Linked DNA regions of Homo sapiens: all the other regions are linked to region 1. The links are contacts of gene promoters, found by promoter capture Hi-C in blood cells and fetal thymus (Javierre and others, 2016). All regions are on one chromosome and are shown on one strand. Each heading gives the region's core, a stretch centred on a gene start or on the middle of the fragment in contact. The rest is flanking DNA. Distances are from core to core; before and after follow the strand shown. Region 1 holds the start of IKZF1 (IKAROS family zinc finger 1). Region 2 has its middle 100 kb from the start of IKZF1. Region 3 has its middle 24 kb from the start of FIGNL1. Region 4 has its middle 88 kb from the start of SPMIP7.

Region 1 (4,425 bases), core at 49-2,548:
TCCATATAAAAGATGAGTACAATAAAACTCATTGAACAAACATCTTCAAACAAAGAAATAAACTCAAGAGGACCCAGGACATTTCTATGTGGGTCCCCCCCACCCCTCGACTCATAACCAAATTGAACCTGGCCTTAAAAGCATTTGAATGTCTATGAAAGTTTAAATATCATACGCAGTATTTTCAAATTCCATAAATTTTCCTCTTTTAACAGAAGTTGATGGGACTAGTAAGGAGACATTTCCTCAACACCATTTTGTCTGGAATTTTAAAACAAGGTATCTCAAAGCTGAAATATACTGCCTGCGGCGCAGTGGGAAATTGTGAGTGGGTAACCTAAGCAAAGCGCACCGCATTGAAATTCAGTCTGGGTGGGCTGCAGTCCCTAGAGAGAGGGAAGCTGCATTTGAAAGCTGTGCCTGGTCAGACCCTATGGAATCGCTACGGTTTTCGGTCATTAGATGCCTCCAAATTAGAAGGAAAAACAAGCCCTCACGAGGTTCCTTAGGCATCAGCAGCGATGCTTGACAAATATTTAAAATACATTTCAAATATAACCGCAAGTAACCTGATGCCTTAATATTACTAAGGGTTTTCCTGAGAAGGTTTGGTGACTTGAGCGTCAAACCTGCGGTCAGCAAAAGGACTAACTTTTCAAAGCCGGGATAATTCCTCTCTTGCAGAAATTAAGTTCAGACTCGATCTCATCATATTTATAGTATAAAAAGAAAGCTCCCGGCTCAAATATAAGGAAAACTCTTTACACACGACTTTATAAAGGCTGACTTCCGTGGGTATATGTAGGTCTACATAAATTTAAATATGGTTGGGAGCTAGAACTCCTCTCCTGGTGACAGCGGGGCTGCTCAGAAGTGTCCCATGTCGGCCTGGTCCTGCACCTGCTGGCACAGTGCAGAGCAACAGACGCTTGACAGAAGTGAACTCTCTCACTGTCCTCAGAAAAGAGAGGCGGACCTGAGCGACACCAGGGTCTACCAACCTTACCGCTTTTCTTTACTGTGTTTTTTTTTTTTTAAATTCACCAGTTACCCCAAGTTTTCCTATTGAAATTCAATTTGAAAACACTCACGTGGATTTGTGCGTCGCGCTTTGGGGCCAAGACTGATCCTCGGGTGCGAAGAGCAACCTCGGAGCCGGGGCTCCCTCTGCCCTGCCAGGCTTGCCCGCCTCGCCGCGGCCGAGCGTCCCGCCCAGGCTGGGATGCGCCGCGCGGGGACCCAGGGGGCTTGCCGCAGTCACCGCCCCGGGCGCGGGCCGCGCAGTCACTTGTTAGAGTGTCCTGCTAACTTGGCCGCGGAGCTCTTCCCAGCTTTCTTTCACAATGACTTCCTGAAGTTGCTCACTCGCATTGTTCCCCATTTCTCCGCCACACTCCCCGCCCCCAGCCGGCTCAGACCAGGCTTTCGCGCTCCCGGCCGACCGGCTGCCCCGCGCGCACAGCGCCGCCCGCGGGCCCCGTACCTGGCCCCCTCCGCGCCGGCCGCCCCCGCCGCGCCCTTGCGTTGCCACCAGCTGCCGCCCAGAGCGGCGGGTGGCCAGAGCGCGCGCCCTGCCACCCCGCAAACTTTGGGGTGACGCACGCTGGCGGTCCCTGCTCGACCTGCCCCGCAGCCGGCTCGGCCCCGCGCGCACCTCTCGGCCGCCTCCCGGATCGCTGCTCCGGTACAGGGAGCGGGGCGCGCAGAAGGGCGCAGAGCGGGACACGGAGAGGGTGCGTCGTCCCGTCCCCGCCCCGTCGCCGAGTCCCCCGGCTCGCGCGGCGCGCGTCTCAGCCGCAACTCCGGGCCAGAGGGGCCGCGCACGAAAACTTTGCAATCGCGCCGGGCTCCGGCTCAGCCCCCAAAGGCCGCCGGGGCGGCGGCGGGTGCGGGCCGTACCTGCTGGCGCCGCCGCCGGCTGCAGCCCGCTCGCCCGCGCCGGGCCCGCTCGGCGCGCCGCCGCCACCCCCGCGCGCACCGCGCCCGGGCCCTCCCCTCGCCGCCGCGCTTCCTCATTCCAGCGCAGCATCGCGCCGCGGCCCCGCACGGGATGCGGCGGCCGGCGCTGTGTCCGCGGGCCGGGCAGCCCGGCTCGGCCGCGGCGCTGCGGGACCCGCGCGTAACCCGTGGGGGCGCGGCGCGGGCGACACGTGCGGGCCGCCAGGAGGGGGAGGGGGACGCGCGCCGCCGGGCCCGCCACCCTGCACCCGGGGCCGCTGGTCGGTCGGGGCACCCTCACGCTCGCCCCGCTGGCGAGACTGGAGGGACTCGGGACATCGTAAAGCACTTTCCCCAGTGTCTGGGAGCGCCCGCTGTACGCTCAGCTTCACGTCCCTGGAACTGGGGCCCCTTGGCTCCCGGGTTCAGGCTCCGGCCCCAGGATGCGAGTGCCCACCCGAGGGGGTGGGAAAAGTTGATCCTCCGCAAGGGAGGGGAAGGTGCAATTCATTTTCCCAGACAACCAATGGAATACCTCTCGTCTCTCTTCCCTCCCACCTGCTCACGGCAGAAGTTAGGATGGCGCCTTCCATGTTGGCCTGGGTGCACACACAAGTGCGTGCGGAAGGGTGGCTGCAGGCGGAGGTGACAGCGAAGCAATCCCGCAGCCCGCTCGACGGCTCTTTGCGTCTCAGACCTCTCCCTGGCGTGTAAGACACCGTGTGTCTCCGTAAAACGGGAATGCCACATCTGACAGCGCACCCCTTCGCCCTACGGGGAGCCCCTCACTCTAATTAGCCGGGCTCCACCCGAGCAGGAGCCAGCAATGTGTTCAGCTTGAGCAGGAGAGAAAAAGTCATGAATTCCACAAATGCAGCCTGGGCTCCCGCCAGGCGCTAGGGGAGGGGACCCAGAGGAGTGAGATGCGCCTCCTGCCCTTCCAGACTTGTAGGAGCCACCAGGAAGGCACAGAATAAAAATCCCGGGCACCCCTGTGAGGAGGAGCGCCCTGTGAAGAGGGCCGAGAACGTGCTCCTGCTTGGGCGCGGTGGTTCGGGAAGGCGTGAAGACCCATAGGGAGAGCGATGAAAGACCAAGGGAGCCTCCTCAGGGTAGGACATGCAGGCGAAGAAGGCACAGGCCTTCCGGGTGGAGGACACAGCCGGGCAAGGGAATAAGCAGGAAATGTCCCTTCAGGGCAGTTGAGTGTGGCTGGAGACCATCGCTGCCGGGGAAGGTCTTGGCCTGGCCCAGGAGGCCTCCAAGTCGGGGGCCAGGGCACACCAGAGACAGGATCTGCCTCTGCTGCCTCTGGGAGAAGGCCCTTTACCCGTGAATCACAAACAGCGTCTATCCACATTCTCCCTGAGCGCATATGCAGCTCTTACTACAGTACTCAGTGTGTCCTGAAGGGCATTCCGCTGGGCAAGTCTGAGCCAGTTAACTCACTGCTACAGCCCAGAGAAGGGGAAGGTAGTGAAAGGTCCATTGATTTACCTTCTAGTCCTCTCCTCCACTGCGTGACCTTGGGCAGGTTATCCAAACTCCTGAGCATCATCTTCCTTGTCTATAAAAAGAATACATGCCACCAATCCTAAAGACTCCTTACCTGGATTAAATGAGGCAATAAACATAAGGTACAAGGCCCAGAGGGAGGCCAACAATGTTGTAAAGGGGACACGGGACACCTCTAGTTCTTGGATGCAGAAGTACCTTTAGCCGCTGGTACGTCTCTCTAAACCTGTGCCTTGGTCTTCAGGAGTGGACCAGTGGACCGAAACATAGGCATCTCACCAAGGTGTAGCCCACTGAGGCAGGAGCATGTGGGGCTAAGAGCCCAGATAGTTTGGGCTTATGAATCTGACTGAGGTCCTTAATCTCTCAAAGCCTGAATTTCCCCATCTGTAAATTGGTGGTGATAATATAACCCTCCTGGTGGGGTTGTTTGTGGGTTAAGGAGATCACATATGGAAGACCTTGCCACATGCCTGACAGAGAGGAGTACTTTCCAAGTAAGAACAGTTATTCCCTGCTAGCCCAACCAATGTCCCAATGAGATGAGGAGTGCACTGTGAAGAGTCAGGCTCCTTGGCTGGGTGCAGTGACTCACACCTGAGTTTGGAGCCCAAGGTGGGAAGATCACTTCAAGCCAAGAGTTCCAGACCAGCCTGGGCAACAAAGCAAGACCCTGTTTGTACAAAAAAATTTTAAACTTTAAAAATCAAACCCCATTTGTATTAAAAATTTAAAAATTAGGTGTTATGGTATGCACCTGCAGTCCCAACAACCTACTTAGGAGGCTGAGGCAGGAGGATCCCTTGAGCCCAGAAGTTTGAGGCTGCAGTGAGCCATGATTGACACCACTGCACTCCAGCTTGGGCGACACAGCAAGACCCTGTCACAAAACAAAACAAAACAGCAGTCAGGCTGCAGGTACCATGCCTTACCCTTGCCCCCAACCGGGTGGAGTTGAAGGAAGTCAAGCTT
Region 2 (4,523 bases), core at 752-3,251, 100 kb after region 1:
GAAATTTACTGGGTAGACAGAGGGGAGAAGAGAGCCTCCCCACCTTCCAGAAGGAACAGAGCTACAAAGGGAGAGAGAAAGAGATCTGAAAGAGGCAGTGTGCGGGATGGAGCCTGGGGGAGAAGGCACAGTTAGCACTGGGGTGGTCTCTGGCCTGGGCAAGCCTCTTGGACAGCAGCCTACAATGCATGGCCAGCCATGCTGAGCTCAGAGAGAGAATCGTACGAGAAAAGTGCAGGCTCCTCACTGACACACAGGATCTCTGTACTAGAGCAGTGCCTGGGGTAAAAGATTAATAGTTGCTTAATAAATTGTTATTGAATGAGTAAATGGAAAAATGCTTGGCCTCAGCCTTGGGAGGTGACTTCTAGCAGGGGGAAGCTCCTACCTCCCTTAGTTTTTCTTCCCCTCATTATCCTCAAGGAAGAGGAGTGCTTTTGTATTGGTCTAGTCCAGGGATATTGATTGGGCCATGTAGTTCTGGTGAGCATTAGACAGAGAGATACAAAATAAACAGGCATTAGGGTGAACACTGTTCTGTGCTTTTGCTCTGGTTCCTGTGTTTTGTATTTGCTTCTCCTTGCTGAACATTTTTCCTGCTACCATCAAAGGAGTAAGGATAATAACAGGGCTAGGCTGAGGAAAACAAAGAAGTAAAGTAGTTTTACTCCTGCTCCCTTCAGTTCAGGCAAGTGGTGTCACTGAAGTGATTCTACGTGGCTTTGAGGCCAACAGTGACACCCAGGGATTTTCTCTTGAGGCTTAGCTTCCCATGGGAAGCTTGCAGGGGTAGGTTGCTGACCCAGGGTCAGATTCAAAATTTAGGAATGCTAAGTGTCAGTCAGTAATCTCTATCTCTTCTATTTTTACTCTTGAAGATGGTGTATGACAGTAGATAGTGTCAGAGGTGAGCATACAAGAGCAGAAGAATGCAATGTGGCTTTGGGGCTCTCCCATCAAGAAGTGGGGTCCATTTCCTGATCCCTGGAGTCTGGACTCAGGAGCAGCCTGTGACTTGCACTGACATCAATGGATAATGAAATGGATGGAGACAGAGTTGTGCAAATTCCAGAAGCTACGCCTTGAGGGCTCTTGCAGATTTTGCTTTTGACCTCTTGAAACTGCCCTGAGACCACTAGGAAGGAATACCTATCTGGTTTTCTGGAGGAAGAGAGTCACATGGAGAAGAACTGAGGCAGCCACCAACTGCCAGACATGTGACCACCAGCTCTGCTGACCCCACAGCTCAAAGAAGCTGCACAGATGAGCTGAGGCCACACTCTTCAGGGAACAATCCGCACAGTCCTGAGAGACAGCAACTCCTTGCTCTTCTGAGCCACTAGGCTTTGGAACAGTTCATTGCCTCTTTTACATGACATACTCTAATTGCATCATCTTGTTCAATGCTCACAACAACCCTGCAAGGTTCTTATTAATTTTCCATTTTACAGATAAGAAAACTGAGCCTCACAGAGTAGATGCAAAACCGTTAAGTGGCAGGACTGGAATTTGCACTCACATCTATGTGGCCCTAAAGGCCACCCTCTCCCCATTTCACTGGCCCATCAAAAACCACAGAGACCAGATAACAAGAGCTTGTCATAGTGCTGACAGCAGAGCTGAGGTCCCAAACTGCAGCATGCTCTGCATTCTTCTGGTCACAGGGCAAAGGCCATCAAAAGGGATCAAGAGAAGACACAGGAGCTTCCAGGATGTCAGAGAAAAAGGATGGGCTTGAACTTCTATTGACTTCATTGAGTCAACACAGGAGTCAAAAACTGTTGTGACTGGGGACTCACACCCTGTCTATTCTTGTTGATCTTTGGACAAACCATTGCAGCAGACAGAAACATTCAAATAAAGCTTAGAAAAGTGAAAAAAGAAAGGGGGGAAGAATACCATAGTAAAAGAAAATAGAAGAGGGAAATGGTGAGGCAAACTTATCACTGGCATCATGATCTATCAGATTATGTGCTCAAAATAAGGTTATGGATTTATTCTTAGTGGAGGGACTGGGGCTCATGGCCTGAGTATCATTCACAAAGAAGCCAGAAAACTCCATGTGTCCACGTGTCCAGGGGCAGGAATGCCCACGCAGGCACTGTATCGCTGCAGCTGAATACCTGCCAGAGAAGCTTTGCTACCCTAAAGCCAAGGCCAGGCCTTCTAAGAATGCGCCACACCAATGAGGTGACATGTCCTGTGATGGCCTAGTATGGTTATGTGCTTTGCCTAGAATCCACGATTGCATTATGATGGAATTTCTGGTATAGAAAAATTGTAATGTTCCAACACTGTTTTTGAAAATAAAGTGCTTCTTCATTAAAAAAAGTTTAATTGTAGTAAACTACACATAGCATAAAACGTACCATTTCAGACAATTTTTAAGCATATAGTTCTGTGGCATTGAGTACATTGACACTGTCATGCAACCATCACCACCAGCCATTTCCAGAACATTTTTATCTTCCTAAATGGAAACTCTGTATTTATTAAACATTTAATCCTCATTCCCACCTCCCGCTATCTCCCGGTAACCACCATTCTACTTTCTCTATGATTTCCAGAACTTTTTCATCTTCCTAAACAGAAACTTTGAATTCATTAAACATTTAGTCCTCATTTCCATCTCCCCCTATCTCCTGGTAACCACCATTCTACTTTCTCTATAAATTAGACTACTCTAGAGACCTTATATAAGAGCAATCAAACAGCACTTATTCATTAATGACTGGCTTATTTCAGTTGGTATAATGTCCTTAGGGTACATTCATGTCATAGCATGTGTCAGAAATTCCTTCTTGTTTAAGGTTGAGTAATATTCCGTATTGTGCATTTACCACAGTTTGTTTATCCATTCATTTATAGATGGAAACATCCACCTTTTGGTGGATGTTATTGTGAATAATGCTGCTATAAACATGGACATACAAATATCTCTTTCAGATCCATTCTTCTGGGCAGATACCGAGAAGCAGACTTGCTGGGTCATATGGTAATTCTATGTTTAATTTTTTTGAGGAACAGCTATACAGTTTTCCATAGCAGCTGTACAATTTTATATTCCCAACCAGGATGATGATTTCTCCACATCCTTGCCAATGCTTTTTTTTTGTGTGTTTTTTCTTTTAACTTTTTTGAATGAGTAGCCATCCTAATGGGTATGGAGCTTCTTCATTTTATAGAATAGGAAACCAAGACATAGCAAATGTTAAAAGTTTCCCCACGGTCACACAGCTAATAAATGGCAGAGCTGAGAATTGTACCAAGGTGATCTAAATCCAAGGAGCAGAATTTTAAAGTTTTTATTTCCAGGTTAATGGTGGACAACCTCAAGCTAAGGGATTTCTGCTAATTGTATGGAATTGCTCATCACTGGGAGGCTTGTTCAGCATACACTGGGGTGAGGAGGAAGACATAAAATACCTCCATCAGTGAGAAGCATTTGGTTCACTCAAAAACAAGTTGAAGACCTGGAACAGATAAAATCAGAATAACTCCTGACCTTTGGTACAAATGCCAAGGGACTCAAATGTGGATAATTTTGGAAGCCAACTGAAGAGTTGAATTATTACTTGTCTCAATGCTTCCTGCTTTCGGTTGGTTCTGGAAATGGAAGTGCCAAGCCCTGCCAGGAAGTCTTCTCTCGTGGTTTTACTGGTCAGGGCTAATTTAGGAAGTGCTGGAAATCTCGTAGAAACCCCTTGGGAAATTTTTACCTTGTTTTCCTACATAAAAAGTTCCACTCAGTTATAAAATCTCAGAGATGACATCTGGCCTCCCCACTGGCTTATCTGAGCTAAACCATGTGTCTTTTCCCAGTGCAATTCAGTATCGGGCAACATAACCTGGGCCACTTGGGCCATTCCAGGAGAGGGGAGACGTTTTGCTAGGCATTCTGTGGGTTCATGCAGGTGCCTTCTTCTCAGTCCACTCACACATTGCCCTATGACATGGTTGGTAAGATTCTCGTCTCACTGTGCAAGACCTTAAGGCTCAGAGAAAATGGGCTAATTTATCCAACACTACCCAGCTAATAAACAGGAAAGTCAGCACACAAATCCAAACACATGTCATTCCCTAAATTACGCTTTTCTCTTTACCCCTCTCTGTTCAGAAGTATCAGAATAATTCCTTTATTTAAGGAGATTTGAGTTCTTACTGTAACATGTTCAATATTAAATTTCTCCATTAAACAGAAAGCATACATGTGTCATGAAGTCCACACTCAGGCCCCCATCCATGCCCAGTGGCTTCTGAGAGTCCCTCCTTTCCTTACTCAATGCCATCTGCAGCCCACCTGCTCCTTGCTGCTCCAGGACAGGCCTGCGCTTCCTGCACTCCCTACCTGTCCTCATGCTGTTCCCTCTGACTGCAGTGCTCCTGCTCATGCCATTGTCTTCACTTGGCCAGGTCCTACTGATCATTCATGATTCCTGCCCTATCCAAAGGACCCCCAGAGAAGCCATTCTCCTTCCCTCTTTTCAGTTCTCACAGCATGTGCCCTGGACCTTTCTCTTGTG
Region 3 (4,127 bases), core at 527-3,026, 120 kb before region 1:
CTGTCATTGGGATCTCTAAAGAAAAGGAGAAGCACGTTATTAGATACTGGAAGAAGCAGAATCTTATTATATAGTGGCAAAACGCTCAATGAAACTGTCTCCTGAAATTCTGTGAAAAGCTGAACTTGTAAATGATTAACTTAGCTATATAGTGAAAGGGATTTTCAAGCAAAGTGTTGAAGGTGCTGCCTGGTTTCTTTTTGCTGCTTATAGTAAAATGTAAGGGCATAGGTATATTGACAGAATAACTGTGCATAAAACAGAACCATGACTTGAGGACTTTGAAAATTCTTTAGCATCACCAAATGGCAATGATGCCAACATGAAGAGATTTATTGTCAGGAAAATGCACTCTGGGAGAAAAGCAGAGGGTGTAACTATACAACCATTTGCCAAAATCTTAGAAGGAATATAAGCTCAGAATATTCACTCACACAAAATACCTTTCAGTGCTTCACAGACCCTCTCAATAAATTAGCGGGCCTCTGGGAAGCTTAAGGGCACTATCTGTCTTTCATGCCCAGGGGGCCAAGGTGGAGGAGGTATTATTACAAAAAGGTCTGTGGATGTGACTTGTGTCCAATGGAGTGAACCCATTAAAATCCACAGAAAGCCCATAGAATATTTGAGAAAACTGTTTCAGCAGAAACATCACAAGCTTAGACTAATGGGGACAGACAGAGTAAAACAAAAGGCCACTTCAGACTCCCAAATTCTACTGGCAGGACAAAGGCTGATAAAACTTCTCACCTGCAAATGCCTTTTAGGAAAATGGAAGGATGACCCAGAGGGCAGCGTTAAAACTCAGAAGGCAAAGCCAAGAGCCACAGGTCATTTATTCTAAGGGCTTAAAGCTTAATCAAGAAACCCAACATTCTCCTGCCTGGATTTCAGAACTGTAATGGATTGGTGACTCTTTTGTACGTCCCGGGTATGAGAATGTGTATAGCTGTTATCCTCTGCCTGTCCACCTGTGTGTACAGGGTGAGATGGGGGCAGATCATTCTTCTCTTTTGTTTCCCAGGTCCACAGATCAAGGAAGGGTGGGCCCCAGGAACTATACTTATCTGGACCTGGACTTGATGATAAGATTGTGGACTTTGTGCCGACACCTGAATGGGCAGAGACATTGGGGAACCTTGGGAAGCATGAATATCTTTTACATGTGTCATGGATGTGAATCACTGGGGGCCAGAGGGTGGACTCTGGCAGACTCTAAGGTGGTCCCTGCAAACCTTGCCTTCTGTTCATGTTTCTGTGTAATCTCCTCGCCTTGAGGGTGTTTGGAACTTGGGACTTTCTGCTAATGAACAGAATTTAGAAGTGATAGGGTCTCACTTCTGTGACTAATTTACCAAAAGACTGTAGCTTCTGGCTTGTTCATCCTCTCTTGCTCTTTCACTCACTCTGATTTGCACCTGCTGCCATAATGGGAGCTGCCCTGTGGAGAGGCCCATGTGGCAAGGAACAGAGGGAGGCCTCGGGCCCAACAATCATAAAATGAGCTTAGAAGTGAACCCTCAGCTAGCTGAGTCTTCAGATAAGACCTCAGCCCAAGCTGAGGCCTTGTGAGACACCTTGAGCCAGAAAACAAAGCTAAATGCACCTAGATTCCTGACCCACAGAAATGGTTAGATAATAAATATCTCATGTTTTAAACTACTAAGTTTTTGAATAAATTTTATGTAGCAGTAAATAGTAAGGCCAGTAAAATGATATTTCTAGCACACTTGAGTTTGTGGCCCAAAATTCAAACATACTGCCCTATTTGTGAGTTCACTGCTAACCATATGTATTTACCCCTAAAAATCTCATAGTGAAAGAAAGACATGGTTTACCTCCATAGATTCCTGAGTGTCCTTCCAATAGCTATTGTTTGTGTAAAAACTTAGAGATCCTACTGCTTATTGGAAACTTGCTAGTTCATGCACCTTTTTTTGTCTGATTAAAATATCTCCTGCCTTCTTCATCTTAAAATAATTTTTTATTTTGAAAATTTCAGACACAGAAGTTGCAAATATAAGACGGAGTTCTTTAGTACCCTTCAGCCACTTGCCCCCAGTGATAACATTGTATACAAGCATAATACATTATCAACATCATCTGATTCCTTTTTTGAATAGAAAAACAATTCTATTTAGTAGATCTATTAGTAGGCTTTCACCCTACATGGAAAGTCTTTCTTATATTGGAACTTTTCAAGAAATGTGGCTGCAGATCTATCTAGTACTATCTAGAGGGCAGGGCCCTCAGATCCCGACCCGCAAAATGAGCCTCAGTGGGAATCTATACTTGCCAACCAACATGAACATAGCAATAAAATGATCCATTCGTCAGGGCCTTGACGAGGCCTGCGCCCCAGATTGTGCTCAGCTCCCAAGCTGCTGAGAGCTTTGGGGGGTAGCAGGTGTGGGGAGCAGGTGGCTCTACCAAAATAACAGCAGCAGCAGCAACAGCAACAATGACAACAGATAAAGTAGAGTCCCAGGAAGAAGGGAGGCACTGTTATTTGAATTACATTACTAAAGTGATAATAAATGTCACTTCAATAATGTGTCCAGTGATAATAAATGCCACTTCAATAATGTGTCCGTGGACATTCTAAGCATCAGACTTCATGTGAGCATGACTGTAGTTCTTTCAGCTAAATTACGGATTCTCTTTGCTTCACATCTCTCACGATAGGCAAACAAGCTTAACCATAATTTCCAAGTTTAAAATCCTATAGAGATGTTTCACTTAAGATTAAGCATGTTTTCAATCTCACCAGCACAAACTCTGGCAAAAACACAATGAACAGTAACTGTGGCAAAGCAAAATAATTAGATACCATTAAGGAAATAATCTACTTAGAAGATGGGTGATAACAATTTTTTCAGATCCAGCTGTGGCTGTGCTGCCTAACATAGCAGCCGCTATCCACGTATGGCTATTTAACATAAATCTATTAAAATTAAATAAAATTAAAAATCTGTCCCTCAGTTGCACTGGCCACATTCAGGAGCACACGTAGCTAGCGACTTTCATACTGGGCAGTACAGATATAGAACATTTCTTTTACCACAAATAATTTTCCTGGACAGCATCAACTTGCAGGATGCAAGAATCTGAAAGGGGCTAAGAGAAAAGAAAAAATAACAAGGCACATGAAGTGAGATATGAAATGCAGCAGAGCTCTCTCAATATCATTAAATGTCAGAATGATATTTAGATGTATATTATCAGATAACTCACCAATTATCTCAGCAAAAATTTTTGAATAATCTTCCTTTCCCCACTGATATTTCTAATGCCTCCTTTATTAGTCTTAGGGGACTCTGGGCAATCCCACCCTTTGGCAACTGGAATCGTGGCCACTCGCTATGTGAACATTTTTCTTATTTGAAGGAAAGATGGACTCGGAATGCTGCCACTAGGAAAACATGGCACGATGAGCCCTGGGTGGTTCTCGTCACAAGAAGCCCTTTTGTATAGCGAAAATAATATGATCTGATACGATACATGATATGACATGCCACAGGGAAGACTGCTTGAATGACAGGTTCAGCACAGGGACTCTGTACTGCCAGCATTTGCCCACAAAAAGGACAGACTCTCCCCTTCGAGCTTCATGGGCAAGGCAAGAGGGTGGCACTGCTTCCAATTCTCCCTCAAGTGTGTGGGCTCAGGACCCTCTCATGAGATGCCAAAGCACCGTCAACACCAAGCTATGGAGTTTAACAGACTTTGTGGAAATTCTATGGTTCATAGAGATAAGTTATTTTGCATTCAATGGAAACCATAAAATGATATAGGACATAATACTGTTCCTCAAGTTAACTGACCACAGACTGGAAGGGAGTCTCCCAGAGGCCTCTGGGGACATCTCAGCCAGATGACGCCCAGCCTCAGTGTTACAGAAGGCTGCTCATCTTACAACACAGGACCTTCAGCCTCGTCCTCCTGCCTAGAGCTCAGACCCAATTGCTTCAAGCCCCCAAAGAATCCTTCACCCCACAGTAAAAGTTCTTCCCTCCCTGCTTGGGGTGACTGCAGTCCGAACAGTTTCTCCTTTCAGGAGAATCTTCCACTCCAGGAGCCAGGCAAAACCATGGGGAAGGCTGCAGAATGACTGGCCTTGAAGCTAT
Region 4 (4,041 bases), core at 711-3,210, 120 kb after region 1:
CCATCTCACTAGTCGACCCGCAGAGCACAAGGTTCAAAAGGCCTCACAGTGGATGACAAAGGAGAGAACATTCCACCACTGACTGGCAAAGGAAGAGAAGGCCACACGGAGGAGGTAGCATCTAATTATAATCTTACGACTTGAGTAAGAACATGCAGGTGGACCAGAAGACCTAAAAATTCTAGCTGAAGAAAGAGTACAAAGCTGGGAGGAGGCCAAGGTCATCTCATGTTGTGGGAACTGCTTGTGGTGTTACTCAAAGCAAGGTTCCTGGTGCAGGCAGGGGCAGTGGGTGCTAGAGAAGGGAAGTGGCAGAGCTGAGGCTGGGCATGTCAGGGAGGGCCCTGCGGGCTATGCAAAGGCTGGGGAGCCCTTGAGGAAGTTGGGGACCCAGGTTAGGAAGCTCATGGTGCCTGTGCCTGCTGCAGGGAACAGGGTGGACTGTAAAGAAGATACCTGGGTGTGGGACCAACTCCACATCTACTGCCGTGGCCCAGGTGGAGCACAAAGAGGACCTGAAGGCAATGGCAGCAAAAATGGAAAGAAGGTTCACTTACTCAATGGGTAGAATGATCAGGACTTGGTGAATAAGTGGACCTGTGTGCGTGTGGTCAGAGGGTTGGATATTTAACACGCTTTGCATTATAAGCAGCAGAAACTGACTAATGCGAGCAAAATAAGGACTGTGTCTGAGGGACACAGTCAGCACAGCTCACACATATGAAGAGCTGGCATCCCGGCTGCACCAGGGGCAAGGCCCAGAAACCCCAAAGGCCTCCAGGATCAACTTTCTAGTTATGCTAATAGTGGGATTTGGGTGCAAAGTCCCATTTTGTCTTGTCTCTCTTTGACTCTAAATGTGGCCGAACACTTGCAATATCTGCTATTAGAACAGACATATGGCCATATCTACAGGAAGCATTAAGTGGAGGCACGGAGGGACAGACGTTAAATCTATTTCCTGGAGGACTGCATGAAGCAAGGCCAAGGGTCCTCTAAAAATGCAATCTAGCCTTCCACTCTAGAAAAGTTTGAGGTGAGCTTTGTATTTTTAAAGCAAAACAGTATTTTTTCATGGGTGAAAAATATTAAGATTTATAACACATTATCTATGATTGTAAAATACAAACCAATTTTAACTCCCCACTATTTAAAAGGAAGTTCATCCACAGCGGTAGTTCTCCCTGGGCAGAGTGGGGTGGTGTCAGCCCACTGATCGTTCGGTACACAGTAACTGTCAGAGTCTGAGGGTTGAGGCGTGGGAACAGATGGAGTCCAAGCATGTTGGTTGAACGTCTAGTGGAGGAAGCATACGTCTAGGAGGTGACACACCTGGGACTTTAGACTAGACCCTGATGGTTACTAGCTGTGTGCTTTGGGGCAAAATTACTTATCTCTGTGAACTCGATTTCTTCAGAAATTTCAGCAAAATATCAGTTCCAGACTTCACCTCCTTACAGTCTGACTCAGTAAGTCTGAATTTCTTACTAAGTTCCATATTATGAGCAACCACAGTTAAAAACTGATGTACAGGGCTAGGTGCTGTGGCTCACACCTGTAATCCCAGCACTTTGGGAGGCCAAGGCGGGTGGATCACCTGAGGTCAGGAGTTCAAGACCAGCCTGGACAACATGGTGAAACTCTGTCTCTACTAAAAATATAAAAATTAGCTAAGCGTGGTGGCGGGCACCTGTAATAACAGCTACTCGAGAGGCTGAGGCATGAGGATCACCTGAACCTGGGAAGTGGAGGTTGCAGTGAGCCGAGATCATGCCATTGCACTCCATCTGGGAGACAGAGCCAGACTCCATCTCAAAAACAAAAACAAAACAAAACAAAACAAAACAAAACAAAAACTGATGTACAGGAAAACCCTCAAATTTTCCATAGTCATTTATTCATTCACTCATTCATTCAAATCCTGTTTTTCCAGCACTCACAATGTGCCTGGGCCTGTGCCTGGCACTGGGGCCAGAGCAATGGAGATGACACACAGGACTCACTACCTCATGGAACTTATGCTCTTAGATGTAGTTATCAATAAATTAATCTGGTGAGAGAAAAATGTCACATCAGCTGTAGGGATGGCACCTGATTATCACCTGCTGGCAGCTTCCTGAAACTGCCTTAGCTCCTGAATCCTAAAATGCTTTTATTAGCAATTCTAAAGCTAGAGAAAATTTCCATTTACTATACCCAAGGACACTTCAGTTGCAAATAAATATTCAGTAAACTCACTTCACATTTCACTGTGGGACATTTCAGTAAGCACCGTGTGGGGAGAGGGAGGTCAGCATGGGCCATATGTGACGTTCTTTCTCCAGCCCACTGTTTCTTCTGCTGTACCTATTAAATCACAAGACAGCTTTTGCACTACCTCGTGGCATTTTTCTGAGCATAAATGCGAGTCCTTGGTGTTGAGTTGCTGCCATGTGAACGAATGCTTTCCCCCTATAGGCTCAGCTCCTTCATTCAAGGGGATCACAAGCAGAGCTGAAGTGTGCATCCAAGGTTGTGCCTCCCACCAGCTTGGGGGATGAGAAGCAGTTGTCCTTGCAGATTAGAAACTGCAGACTGCCCTCTCTGAATACTATGCAGACTTAGAACATAGAAATGAGCTTTTTAGACAATTAGGGAACTTGACAGTAGCAGATGAGACTCAGAACTGAATCCAGCAATGAGACGGTTAACATGGATAGCCTGAGTGATACGCATTTCCTTGGGAGCAGAAGTAAGGAGCCCACATGGGAAGAGGCTGGCAGGGTGGAAAGAGGAAGCTGCAGCCTGTGCTTATGTGGTCAGGGTTGGGGAGGCGTGCAGCATGGAGGGCCAGGACAGGAACAACCAGGACTTGTGGGACTTTGCAATGCTGTTGTGTTCACAGTGAAAAATAAAGTGATTTGAGAAGCTGAATGTTTTAATGCAGATTCAAGGGATATATGCATCTCTTGGCGGAAATGAATAAGTGACTATTTTCTTTAACAATGATTTTTTTTTTTTTTGAGACAGAGTCTGGCTCAGTCACCCAGACTGGAGTGCAATGGCGCAATCTCGGCTGACCACAACCTCCACCTCCCAGGTTCAAGTGATTCTCCTGCCTCAGCCTCCCGAGCAGCTGGGATTACAGGCATGCATCACCATGCCCGGATAATTTTTTTTTGTATTTTTAGTAGAGACGGGGTTTCTCCATGTTGGTCAGGCTGGTCTTGAACTCCCGACCTCAGGTGATCCGCCCGCCTCGGCCTCCTAAAGTGCTGGGATTACAGGCGTGAGCCACCGCACCCAGCCCTTGACAATTATTTTTATCTGGCATTCCTAATGGCGCTAGCACCCTCAGTGCCTAGCATAGCCTCTGTAAGTGGCCGGTGGCAGCAAATGTTTGTGAATGAACAACTGGCCTACTGTTGGAATGACTGAATAAATCCTAGAATCGTGATTATAATAGTAACTAAATGAAGCAATACCAATTGCCAACATTGGCTTTGGTACAGTGGAGATGAATTTGGGCCTGGAGGAGGACCTAGCTCTCACTTCAGCATGGACTAGTAAATAAGAACAAGGACGTTGGTATCAACTGTCTTGGGTTCAACTCCCAGCTCAACCACCTGCTAGCTGTGAGACCCTGGACATATTATTCAATCTCTCCATAGTTTGGTTTCTCTAAATTTAAAATGATGTGTAATAGTACTGTGTCTGTGTGTGTGTGTGTGTGTGTGTCAAGTGAGTTATATATGTGAGATGCTTAGAATCATGCCTAGAACACAGCAAGGTCTCTGAAACTATTAGCTATTATTATTAGTTGTAAGAGACAAATAGATAACATCAGTAAACAGCATCTGGCACAAAACCTCTGTTCAATGCTTATCACCTGTTCCAGACACAGGCTACCTGGTTACAATTTTATCCTGTATTTCACTTCCTTTTTTACCCCCTCACCACTTAAAAATAAATACAACTCCAAGTATATTCCCAAAGCAAATTATATTTAAGGTTTCAAATAATTAAGCAGTTACCAGGGAGAGGTGATTGTTCAGTAAGGAC

The links. The method cuts DNA at HindIII sites, captures the fragments that hold promoters and counts their contacts. A CHiCAGO score of 5 or more calls a contact.
Region 2: a contact is called between a fragment that was not itself captured here and the fragment with the promoter of IKZF1 in region 1, in 16 of 17 cell types (activated CD4 T cells, total CD4 T cells, naive CD4 T cells and 13 more). The highest score is 55.4, in activated CD4 T cells.
Region 3: a contact is called between a fragment that was not itself captured here and the fragment with the promoter of IKZF1 in region 1, in 14 of 17 cell types (total B cells, activated CD4 T cells, naive B cells and 11 more). The highest score is 21.8, in total B cells.
Region 4: a contact is called between a fragment that was not itself captured here and the fragment with the promoter of IKZF1 in region 1, in 15 of 17 cell types (activated CD4 T cells, total CD4 T cells, naive CD8 T cells and 12 more). The highest score is 17.1, in activated CD4 T cells.

What each region holds. Positions count from the first base shown.
Region 1 is chr7:50,301,589-50,306,013 of GRCh38, reverse strand. It overlaps IKZF1 (IKAROS family zinc finger 1), which reads right to left and starts at 1,298. Exons shown (of 8, transcript NM_006060.6): 1 at 1,092-1,298. RefSeq lists a silencer at 1,186-1,985 and an enhancer at 2,840-3,341. The HindIII fragment of the contact is 6,071 bases long and covers 1-4,424 here.
Region 2 is chr7:50,199,346-50,203,868 of GRCh38, reverse strand. No RefSeq gene overlaps it. Among named protein-coding and RNA genes, the nearest start is that of IKZF1, 100 kb to the left of the region's middle. The HindIII fragment of the contact is 272 bases long and covers 1,866-2,137 here.
Region 3 is chr7:50,423,796-50,427,922 of GRCh38, reverse strand. No RefSeq gene overlaps it. Among named protein-coding and RNA genes, the nearest start is that of FIGNL1, 24 kb to the left of the region's middle. The HindIII fragment of the contact is 1,840 bases long and covers 857-2,696 here.
Region 4 is chr7:50,181,666-50,185,706 of GRCh38, reverse strand. No RefSeq gene overlaps it. Among named protein-coding and RNA genes, the nearest start is that of SPMIP7, 88 kb to the right of the region's middle. The HindIII fragment of the contact is 7,231 bases long and covers 1-4,041 here.